Regions from separate parts of the Homo sapiens genome. Here region 1 is linked to region 2. Evidence: promoter capture Hi-C in 16 types of primary human blood cells and fetal thymus (Javierre and others, 2016). All regions are on one chromosome and are shown on one strand. Each heading gives the region's core, a stretch centred on a gene start or on the middle of the fragment in contact. The rest is flanking DNA. Distances are from core to core; before and after follow the strand shown.

What was found. Contacts are between HindIII fragments. The CHiCAGO score rates a contact against its expected background, and 5 or more counts as called.
Region 1: a contact is called between a fragment that was not itself captured here and the fragment with the promoter of SELPLG in region 2, in 2 of 17 cell types (naive CD8 T cells and naive CD4 T cells). The highest score is 7.8, in naive CD8 T cells.

Annotation. Positions count from the first base shown.
Region 1 is chr12:107,320,671-107,325,693 of GRCh38, reverse strand. The region is part of intron 1 of ABTB3 (ankyrin repeat and BTB domain containing 3); the gene reads right to left. Among named protein-coding and RNA genes, the nearest start is that of ABTB3, 4.7 kb to the right of the region's middle. The HindIII fragment of the contact is 5,263 bases long and covers 1-4,620 here.
Region 2 is chr12:108,630,000-108,635,143 of GRCh38, reverse strand. It overlaps SELPLG (selectin P ligand), which reads left to right and starts at 1,250. Exons shown (of 2, transcript NM_003006.4): 1 at 1,250-1,404. LOC105369968 (a long non-coding RNA gene) reads right to left here. Exons shown (of 3, transcript XR_007063449.1): 2 at 1-813. RefSeq lists a silencer at 439-488 and enhancers at 1,729-1,778, 3,187-3,336. The HindIII fragment of the contact is 5,781 bases long and covers 1,073-5,144 here.

The sequences.
Region 1 (5,023 bases), core at 740-3,239, 1.3 Mb after region 2:
GGCTCAAGGTCACAAATACTAACAGACTCAGAATTAGAGGCCTTCCTTCTATTCAAAGTTCATCAACTCCACCCTTGACCCTAGGTCTTCAGGTTAGTCCTTCATTGTTTTTATTTTGTTATTTTTATTTTATGTTTCAGGAAAACACCCAACTTGCAAATGCCCCAGCACTGAACTAGCAAGTCTGCACAGAAAACCAAATCACCCTCTACTGACCCAAATTCCAAGTTTTAATTTACATCAAGCCAGTTAATTAAAAAGGTGCTCTGTGAGCACAGATACTGCTACAGCTGGCTCTTGAGATAGCATTTGTTGTTCCTCTTAAGAAGATGGGTTCCTTCTGTGACATTTTTGGTCCAACACAGCAACACTGCTCAACAGAACAGCATGACCAGTTTAGGGACAGGAAAACGGCTGAGCAAGCATTTTGTGCAGAGACAATAGAAAAGCAAGAGACCTGAAAACCAACCTACCCTCCAAGCCCGTGCTGACAGGTGAGGGCTTGTGTTAATTAATGTTTATTAAGTGATTGGGGATCCCTGAAATGAAAGAGACTATTCAAAATCCCACAAGTATTATTGTTATCTCCAGCCTGAATAATCTGTTTTTTGAGGAAGCCATTATTATCGAGTGCCTACTATGTGGCAGGTGCTTTTATAAACTGTATCTGATTTAATCTTTGTAATCGCCCATTGCGTTCGGTTTGGGTTTTCTTCCTTTTTAAAATACATCTTCTTTTGTTTTGTAATCCTCACTGTACAGATGAGAAAACTAAGTTCAGCAAAATTAAGTCACTTGCTAGAGAATGGTAGAGTGAAAATTTGGGGTTAGATCTAAGCGTAAGGTCTTTCTCCCTTTCCTTTTCATCATTCCATACTGCCTCTTCTGGTCTGCCCTTCAAATTGTACATTTAAAACAAAATTTAATTCAAGAATGCCTATGGCTTTTTTTTTGGTGTGTCTTTTTTTTAACTGAAGTATATTTCACAATACAGTAAAATGCACAAATACTAGGTTTACCATTAGATACCAGCCTGGCCAGCATGGTGAAACCCCGTTTGACAAATGCATATACCTCTGAACCCACATCCCAATTAACATAAGGGACTACATCCAGAAAGTTTCCTGGTGCCTCTTCACTAAAGGTAGATATCATTGAAGTTTAAAGTACAGCAAATAAAATAAGCTAACTTAATTTTATTTTATTTTATTTTATTTATTTATTTTTTGTAGAGCTGAGATCTTACTATGTTGCTTCAGCTGGTCTCAAACTCCTGGCCCCAAGCAATCTTCCTGCCTCAGCCTCCCCAAAATAAGCTATTTTCCTTTGACCAAAACAATCTTTTTGTGACCCTGGCCACAGGGCTGTGCCCATGGCATCAATCCTTGAGGTGGGTGTACTGAGTTACTTGGTGCTATAATAAAAAGGAGGATCCAGTTAAAATTCTGTGCCTTGTTGGCTCCATCCACCCTAAGCATGTGGGAATGAATTAATCTGGATGTGATAGAGATGAGATACCATTGTGCCTGGATTATCACAACTATCATCATCATTTTAGCACCTACCATGTGTCAGCACCAGATTATAATAGGCTTAGACACATAATCTCATTTAATCCTTGTAATTATTACCTCTGTTTTACAGCTGAGGAAACTGGAGGACAGAGAGGTTGGGTCGCATACCTAAGAACACACAGCTAGAAAATGGCAGCCTTGAAATTCAAATCCTAGAGGTCCAACACCAGAGGCCATTCTCTTAACAACTGCCTTTACAGGTGATAGGCAAATTTTAAATGCCTAAAATTGAATGAGCTGGTTATATTCGTTTAACAAGCAGTAGAGAGTATCTGTTATACAAAGTGCCAGGCACTGTGCTGAGTGATATGGAAGGAGACACAGAGATGAATAAGAATGGAGAAGGGGTTGCATCAAGGAAGCCCTCACAAGGAAGCCAGGAAGACCAACTCATTCTTGAAGCCAAGTCTTCAAGGATGAGTAGGAACTGGCCAGCTCTAAAGGAGTTTAAGGTACAATGACTAGCACATACAAAGGCACAGTGAAGTACTTCTGCCCCCTCCTTATTTAGCTCAATCAAGTCAAATTTTTAAAACTCCACAGAAACATCAATGGGGTCCCTTAGCTGTTTCCCCGGCTCTTCAAAACAGCTGAAAATCAACACAAAACTCCAGTTCTGAAAAGTTTTTACATAACCACAAAGTTCATGCCCACAGCAAACCCATGGATGTGATTTTCGAGAGCCCCTAAGCCTTCTTTTGCTTTAGAGCCAATTATCTTTTTTTTCTGAATCCAGTCCCATGTGACTAGTTTCACAATTCCTTAGCCTGGGCAGTTTAGCAGCAGCAAATTAGAAAGGTGGACAGGTACAGAAATGGCAGTAAGAAGGGGCAACCAAGGAAGAAGAACTTGGAGCCAGTGCCTGCCTGTAGTCCCAGCTACTCGGCTGAGGTGGGAGGATTTCTTGAGCTCAGGAGTTCAAGGCCAGCCTGGGCAACATAGTGAGACCCCTTCTTTAGAACAACAATAACAACAAAGTAGAAAAACTTGCAAAGATGATTCAAGAAACTCAAAAAGCAATAGCTTCTTTCAGGACATCATTGTATAATACAGTACAATAGCTTGCTCAACTCAAAAAGGTATCTAATAAGCTCCAACTGTGTACTAGGGCCTCTCTTAGGCTTAGCAGGGGATAGAAAAACATGAAAAATCCAGTTCTGCCCAGTTCCATTTGATAGGAACAAAAAGTATATAATTCAGGAATTATATGACAGGAAGGGTCTCTGTTCACCTGTGTGGGTAATAAAGGGCAGGTGGGATGCCTGAAGGCAGGGAACTCATCTGTCACTAAAGAGTCATACAGACAGGAGTTAAGAGTACGGACTCTGGAGCCAGGCTATCTGCATTTAAATAAGCAAGATACTTAAGTTCCCTATGCCTCAGTTTCTTCCTGTATATAATGGGTACTGGGGATCAAATGGGTCAATATACAGAGCCCTGCTGGATACATGTTAGCTGTTATTACCTCTTACCCAGCACTTGCTCAGACCCTAGAATTCGGCAACTGTAATAAGTTTCGATAAACAAATGAATTCACAAATGAATAAATAAATGATGCTACCAAGTTAAAGGAGGGAAAATCTATTATGTAAGGTATGTTGTCCTTAATAAGGCTTGCAGATCAGAAAGACTCCGTACAAAATAGTTTAAGAAATAGGTTTGATGTTTAATGTATGATTCCAATACCTAAGGAATTAATCACTCATTCTTTAACTCTTCTGCATATTCAACCTGCCATTTTAAACAAGCCCAAAGAAAAGGCATGAAGAGATCACAATGAAATCATAGTATATCTCATACCCAGAGGAGGCTGAAGGGGCCCCGAAACCCAAGAGTTAAGCGCTGTGGTGTGGGAGAGGTTGTGATGGCAGCAAACCCCAACCGTCACACACTCACCCTGCCCAAAACCAACTCTGTGGTCTTCTCCTTCCTTAAATTATACTTCCTCCAAAAAGGGTAAACACAAAAACTGTTTTTAAAAGTTGTTAAGGTTCATAAAAGTAAAACCTATTTGAAAAAATATAGAAGCAACTACCACAGAGCTACAAGAGGACCTGGGGGTGTATTACATATCTAGCCCCCTATTTTACAGATGAGGCAACTGAGGCCCAAAGATGTAAAGTGACTTGTCCAAACTCACAACTTCAGGATAATGGCAAAGGCAGAAGTAGGGCAGGGTGACCAGATTTCCACACTAGAGCCTTCCAAAGGAAATACTGAGGGAGAAAAAAGAAGAGGTTCCAGGCCCAGAAGGTGGGTAAGGAGCTGGGAGTCAGGGGCAGCAAAGAGTAAAAGATGATTGTCATGGGAGCCACCAGGAAGGAAATTAAGCCCCTCTGTGCTTTTTGGTGGAGGTAGGGTTTCAAACAAAGAGCAATCCAGTCCAAAGCTCCCAGGTTTTGCAGGTGAATCCCCGCATTCTGAAGAAGCACATACAAAGCCCAATGCCTTCTCCCCAGATGTTTCCATCTTAGTCGATATTTCAGGATGTGTGTGTGTGTGTGTGTGTGTGTGTGGCCTCGAAGATATCCTCTCTTTGAGGGTTGTGCCCTGGCTGGCAGCAGACGGGGAAGGGCTCTGGCAAAGAGATCCCGAAGAGTCTCCGAGATCAGTGCGGATTCCCCTCCCCAACACACACAAACACACACCCGCTTTGCTCCTTCCTTCCCCTCCCCCACTGACGATCAAATCCAGGTGAAGGGACCGAGGGCGGCAGGGTCGGTTTCCAAAGGCTTCGGCTGGAGCCGGGCGCCCTGCGCGCCCGCTTGTTCCTGCGCACACTCACAAGCACACTTACACACGCACAGACGCGCGCGCACACAGACTCTCACACGCACATGCACACCCTTGGCACCGCCCACCGCAGTGCTCCTCCAGCCCCCGGGAAACAGACAGGCAGCAACATGAATGAAATCTGCCCAGAAAGACTGCATTTCAGCTCCAACCGCGCAACCTCTGGCCAAACCGCCGAATATGTAACAAAGTTTTATTTCGCCTTTAGAGTCTCCAGTTACGTTTCTACCATTTCCTGTGGAAAATTGAAGCTTTGAAGTGTCTAGCTCCGGCTTTCGCAGACGGGCAGCACCGCCAGCGCGAGCTCTCGAAAACAAGCGCCCCGGCCCCACCCCCTTCAAGGACAGAACTGCGGGTTCAAACCTACCCAAGTCAGGCCTTCAAAACAGTGGGGCATGAAGAGACGATGATAGAACCTGCTGGAAACGACGCCCTAAACTAACAACCCCCTCCAGAACTGCCCCCCGCCAGCTCCATCCTGCCCAGATCCCCAGAGGCGCTCCTTCAGCCAAGTGGTGAGAGCTGCAGCTCCCTGCCAGAGGGAATGGAGAGGCCAAGAGCTGGGAGGCTGGAATTGGGGGCTTTGTCCATCCCGCAGCCCCCACCAGCTGTGTGCTCTAGCCCTCAAAAACTGCTCTGGAAAAACTTGGCACCGA
Region 2 (5,144 bases), core at 1-2,500:
CCTGAGGTCGAGAGTTCAAGACCAACCAGCCTGACAAACGTGGAGAAACCCCATCTCTACTATAAATACAAAATTAGCCGGGGTGGTGGCACATGCCTGTAATCCCAGATACTCGGGAGGCTGAGGCAGAAGAATAGCTTGAACCCGGGAGGCGGAGGTTGCGGTGAGCCGAGATTGTGCCATTGCACTCCAGCCTGGGCAAAAAGAGTGAAACTCCATCTCAAAAAAAAAAAAAAAAAACAACTTTGTGCAAGGCAAGATATGAGTATCTTTCTGTGCATGTCCTGAGCCCTTGCCTGGTGCAAAGCCGCAGGGCAGATCCTGGGAGACCCCCCTATTCCCTCCCTTCTGGAAGTGTCTGGGTATTCTTAGGCCTCCCAGCCTTTGCCTCTGCTGTGCTCTCTGCCTGGGATGCCCACCTGGCTTGTCATCTCAAGTGCCACTTCTTGGAAGCTCCTCCTGTTAACCTCCCTCCCCCACCCAGGATGGAAGGAGAGGCCCCTCCCTTGCTCACCGCAGGATGGCACTCACTGCGCTGTGTCATTGTGGCATGATGTTCCACCGAATTGTTTACTCGCTGGCCTCCCCATTGGATGGAGGGCTACCAGAGGGCCACAGCCCAGAATTGCTGGCCTTTAGACCTCAGGGCATGCAGTCTGGAGTGCCAGAGTTGGTCAAATGAACAAATTTAGGATGAAGAAATAAGATAAGCAGGACTTGCCCTTGTGGTATCTGTAGTCCAGCTCCCTAGAGAGGCTCTTGGTTGCAGCTGAAAGGGCCTGTGCTGTGCATCTACAGAGAGTGTTTTGAGTCCTGCGAGAAGAAATACACCATATTTGCAAACCCTTTGAAGGTTCATATTTTGTGTTTTTTGCTCCCTGACCACCTCCCACCCCTCCCCACGCCCCACCAATCTTGGGCAAGAAGCGAGACCATTCTCCTTTTTCTCTGGTCACTCCTGTCCTTCAGGGGGCTCCCTCTGGCCCCGACTGTCCATTGCTGCTGAAGTAATGCTGTGGCCTTTCTCAGTTTGGGCCCCACCCAAAACCGAAGAACTTCTCCCCAGAAAGCTTCTACTTGGTTCTCAGTGTTTTCACAGTTATGGGAACCCAAGAACAGTGTCAGACCTAGGAGGTGCCCCACTACCACCCTGTCTTTATCAATGTTGTCACCAAAGCTGTCACAAACAATGGGGTGTGGGCTGTCACATGGCCCTGCCTAAGTAACCACATTCTCGCTTCCTCCTTCCACACACAGCCATTGGGGGTTGCTCGGATCCGGGACTGCCGCAGGGGGTGCCACAGCAGTGCCTGGCAGCGTGGGCTGGGACCTTGTCACTAAAGCAGAGAAGCCACTTCTTCTGGGCCCACGAGGCAGCTGTCCCATGCTCTGCTGAGCACGGTGGTAAGTGCTGGCTTGCAAAACCACAGGGAGTGGCTGGAGGTCCCCATGGGCCAAGGGCCTGCCTTATAGCTGCTGGCAGGCCCGGGTAGGACCGCCAGGCCCTTCTTGAGCTGCAGCACCTGGGGAGGGCAAACTGAGGCTCCTCCGACTCAAGACTAAAGTCTTCCTGGAGTCTGTGGCCTTATTCTGTGACTCTTCTGAATCCTGCTCCTGCCAACTTTTTTTTTCCTTCTTTTTTTGAGACAGGGTCTTACTCTGTCACCCAGGCTGGAGTGCAGTGGCACAATCATGGCTCACTGCAGCCTTAAACTCCTGGGCACAAGTGATCCTCCCACCTCAGCCTCCTGAGTAGCTGGGACTACAGGCGCACATCGCCGCATGCAGCTAATATTTTTACCTTTCCTAGAGATGGGGTCTCACTTTGATGCCGAGGCTGGTCTCAAACTCCTGGCCTCAAGCCTCTTGCGTTGGCCTCCCAAAGTGCTGAAATTACAGGTGTGACCCACCAGCCCCAGCCTCCCATTAACTTACTTCCCTCCCTGGCCAGTTTGCCTGCAGCGTCTGGCTTGGCGGCATTCTGATTTTGAAAATCAGAGAAACCATGAGTGTTTCCCTAGAAATGATCTTATCCTCTCCTTTCCTGGATGGGAAACTGAGGTCGGGAGAGGTGAAGGGATTTGTTTAGGGGCAGAGCTGAGATTAGGTCTGGAAGACTCCAGAAAGTAGGGGGAGTGCAGGATTTCTCTTGAAGCTGCATGTTATGGACGCATAAAAAAGTTCTTTTCAGAGAAAGATGCATTCTTCCCACTTTTTATAAGACTGAGGAAATGACACTTGTCTGTGGCAAACTATTAAAATATTAGAATTAAGATACTATTGTTAGCAAAAGGGAAAACAATAATAATAATAATAATTAGAATATTTGGCTGGGTGCAGTGGCTTACACCTGTAATCCCAGCCCTTTGGGAGGCCGAGGCAGGTGGTTGGCCTGAGCTCAGGAGTTCTAGACCAACCTGGGCAACATGGTGAAACCTCGTCTCTACCAAAAATACAAAAACTTAGCTAGGTGTAGTGGTGTATGCCTGTGGTCTCAGCTACTTGGGAGGCTGAGGTGGGAGGATCACTTGAACCTGGGAGGGGGAGGTCGCAGTAAGCCGAGATTGTGCCACTGCACTCCAACCCGGGTGGCAGAGTGAGACCCTGTCTCAAAAAAAAAAAAATTAGAATACTCTTATTAGTTTGTATTTGAGATACTTTCAGGACACTAAAAGGAAATGGTGGGGGCCAGTTGTGCCCTGCTGTACACACATTCACACACACACACACACACACACACACACACACACACACCCCATATTGTCGATATCTGGGCTTCTGTTGCCTGGAATTCTCTTCCTCTTTCCTCTTTCTTCTGTTTTCCTTTTTTTTCCATCTCTGACTTTGAGGCCCCCAGAGCCAGGCCCCTCAGTGGGCCGGGGCCTCAGAAGGTGGCTCCCAGGCCCTCAGACAGCCCCAGAGTCTCTTCCGAGGCCGTGCCCTGGGTGGTTGATGCCTCCCTCAGCAGGCTTGGCCAGCAGCCAGGGGAGTTAAACCTCAGAGAGCGGAAGGGCTGGGTTGCTAGGCTGGGCCCAGAGTGGGGCATTCAGAGGAGCTGGGGAATCAATCATCCGAGAACCTTGGAGGGTGGACAGTGCCCCTTTTACAGATGAGAAAACTGAGGCTTGAAGGGGAGAAGCAGCTGCCTCTGGCGGCATGGCTTCTGGCTGCAGGATGCCCATGGAGTTCGTGGTGACCCTAGGCCTGTGTCTCGGCTTCCTTTGCTGAACTTGAACAGGAAGATGGCAGTGGGGGCCAGTGGTCTAGAAGGAGATAAGATGGCTGGTGTGTGTGTGTTGGGGGTCTGTGTTTGTTAATCTGTCTGTCTACACAGGGGTGTTTAGAAAACTGTTTAAAGACAGTTGTTCAACTAACCAGATGTAGGTCTCATTGAATTCATTTGTGCCAAGTACCTTACTGCCTCTGGATCAGGCCAGCAAGTTTGGGTTCCAACAGGTGTAACTTGGTTCTTGGTGGGGTGGAGGGTAGGGAGGGGGGTGTAACAAAAAAATCTCAACTAACACTGTGGTTTGCAAGCCACCAAACATTAAACAGATATACAGCATATCTGTGCTATTAACTTTTCATGAGGAGGGCTGGTCACCGTGGCTCATGCCTATAAATCCCAGCACTTTGGGAGGCTGAAGCAGATGGATTGCTTGAGCCCAGGAGTTTGAGACCAACCTGGGCAACATGGGGAAAACCCATCTCTACAAAAAATTTAAAAGTAGCCGGGTCTGGTGGCATGCACCTGTAGTCCTAGCTACTTGGGAGGATCGCTTGAGCCCAGGAGTTCAAGCCTGCAGTGAGCTATGATTGCACCACTGTAGTCGAGCCTGGGCAACAGAGAAAGACCCTATCTCTAAAATTAAATAAATAAATAAACCTTTCATAAGGGCGATGATAAGTGGGAAAAAATGTCTACAGAGACTCCCTGATGTGAGTTGAGGTAGATGACGGAAAGAGGTTGCAAAGTGTCAGCTGGCAAATGTGGTGTGAAAAGTGTGAAGACAGCACGTGCTGTGCAGTTCTGTGCACGTTCCCCTGCCTCAGTCACATGTCCTCTTCTGCAGAGGCATTTAGTGAGGCCCCTGGGGATGCCAGGAGACCCAGGAGAGCTCCTGCCCTCCAAAAACTTGTGGTCTGGTGGGGGCAGCAGAGCAGACAGCCACAGTGGTTGCCAGCCACTGGGGCGAGTGTTGCGAGGGGTGTGTGCCTGCCCATCGGCTGAATCCTGGGCCTGTGGCCTGATCAGCAAGACAGCTGTGGTTCCTGCCTTCTGGAAGTTTAGGAGTCAATGTGAATACATTTTTAGAAAATAAATGAACAGCAGAAATGATTTAAACACGGGAGGTGACTAATCGTGCCTGGGGCAATCTGGAAAGGCTTCTGGGAGGACTCAGCATTTCCCTGGCCCTCTTCAACCCACAACAACCCCATAAAAAGCGGGTGCTACCATTGTCCTTGTATTCCAGCTAAGGAACCCACAGCTCAGAGAGGTGAGGTGAGTTGCCCCAGGTCACACAGCTTCTAAGGGACAGAGCTGGGGATTGACCTGGTTTGATGTGACTCCCAGGGCACAGCAGGGCAGGGCAGGGCCTGTCCTGTCTACCCAGACTTAGATCTGCTGCCTGTGCCTCAGTTATCTGGGGTCTTTCCTTCTCTTGGTGACTACTTGACCCAAACCCTGAGATGCTCAGTCTTTTGAATTTTAGCATTCCAAGATCCTGCCCGCTCTGACCACCAGTTTCAGGATTCTCAGTGCAAGGTTCCTAGCGGCGTGGAGCCCCACGAGGATCTTTCCTGAGCAGCTCAGGGCGGCCACACGGCGGGTTCTCTGGAGCTGGAGTCTGGGCCCCCTGCAGCCTGCTCCTCCACACAGCCTAGATGGGGCCCATATGGGGTCTAGATGGGGCCTGGGCCAGAAGCAGCCTGGTTTTAGGGCGAAAGAGGCAAACGAGCAGTCTCTGACCTACTCTGTTAGGCAAGTGTTGAGACAAATAGGACGTGGTCACTGGAGACGCCTCTGTCGGAGCCCTGCCCTGGCCCCACTTCTGTGGGACTGTTTTTTGGCCTTCCAGGAAGAGGAGAGGTGGAAGGTGGGGCCTGGGAGTGATCCCGCCGCTCCGGGCCTTGCTTGCTAA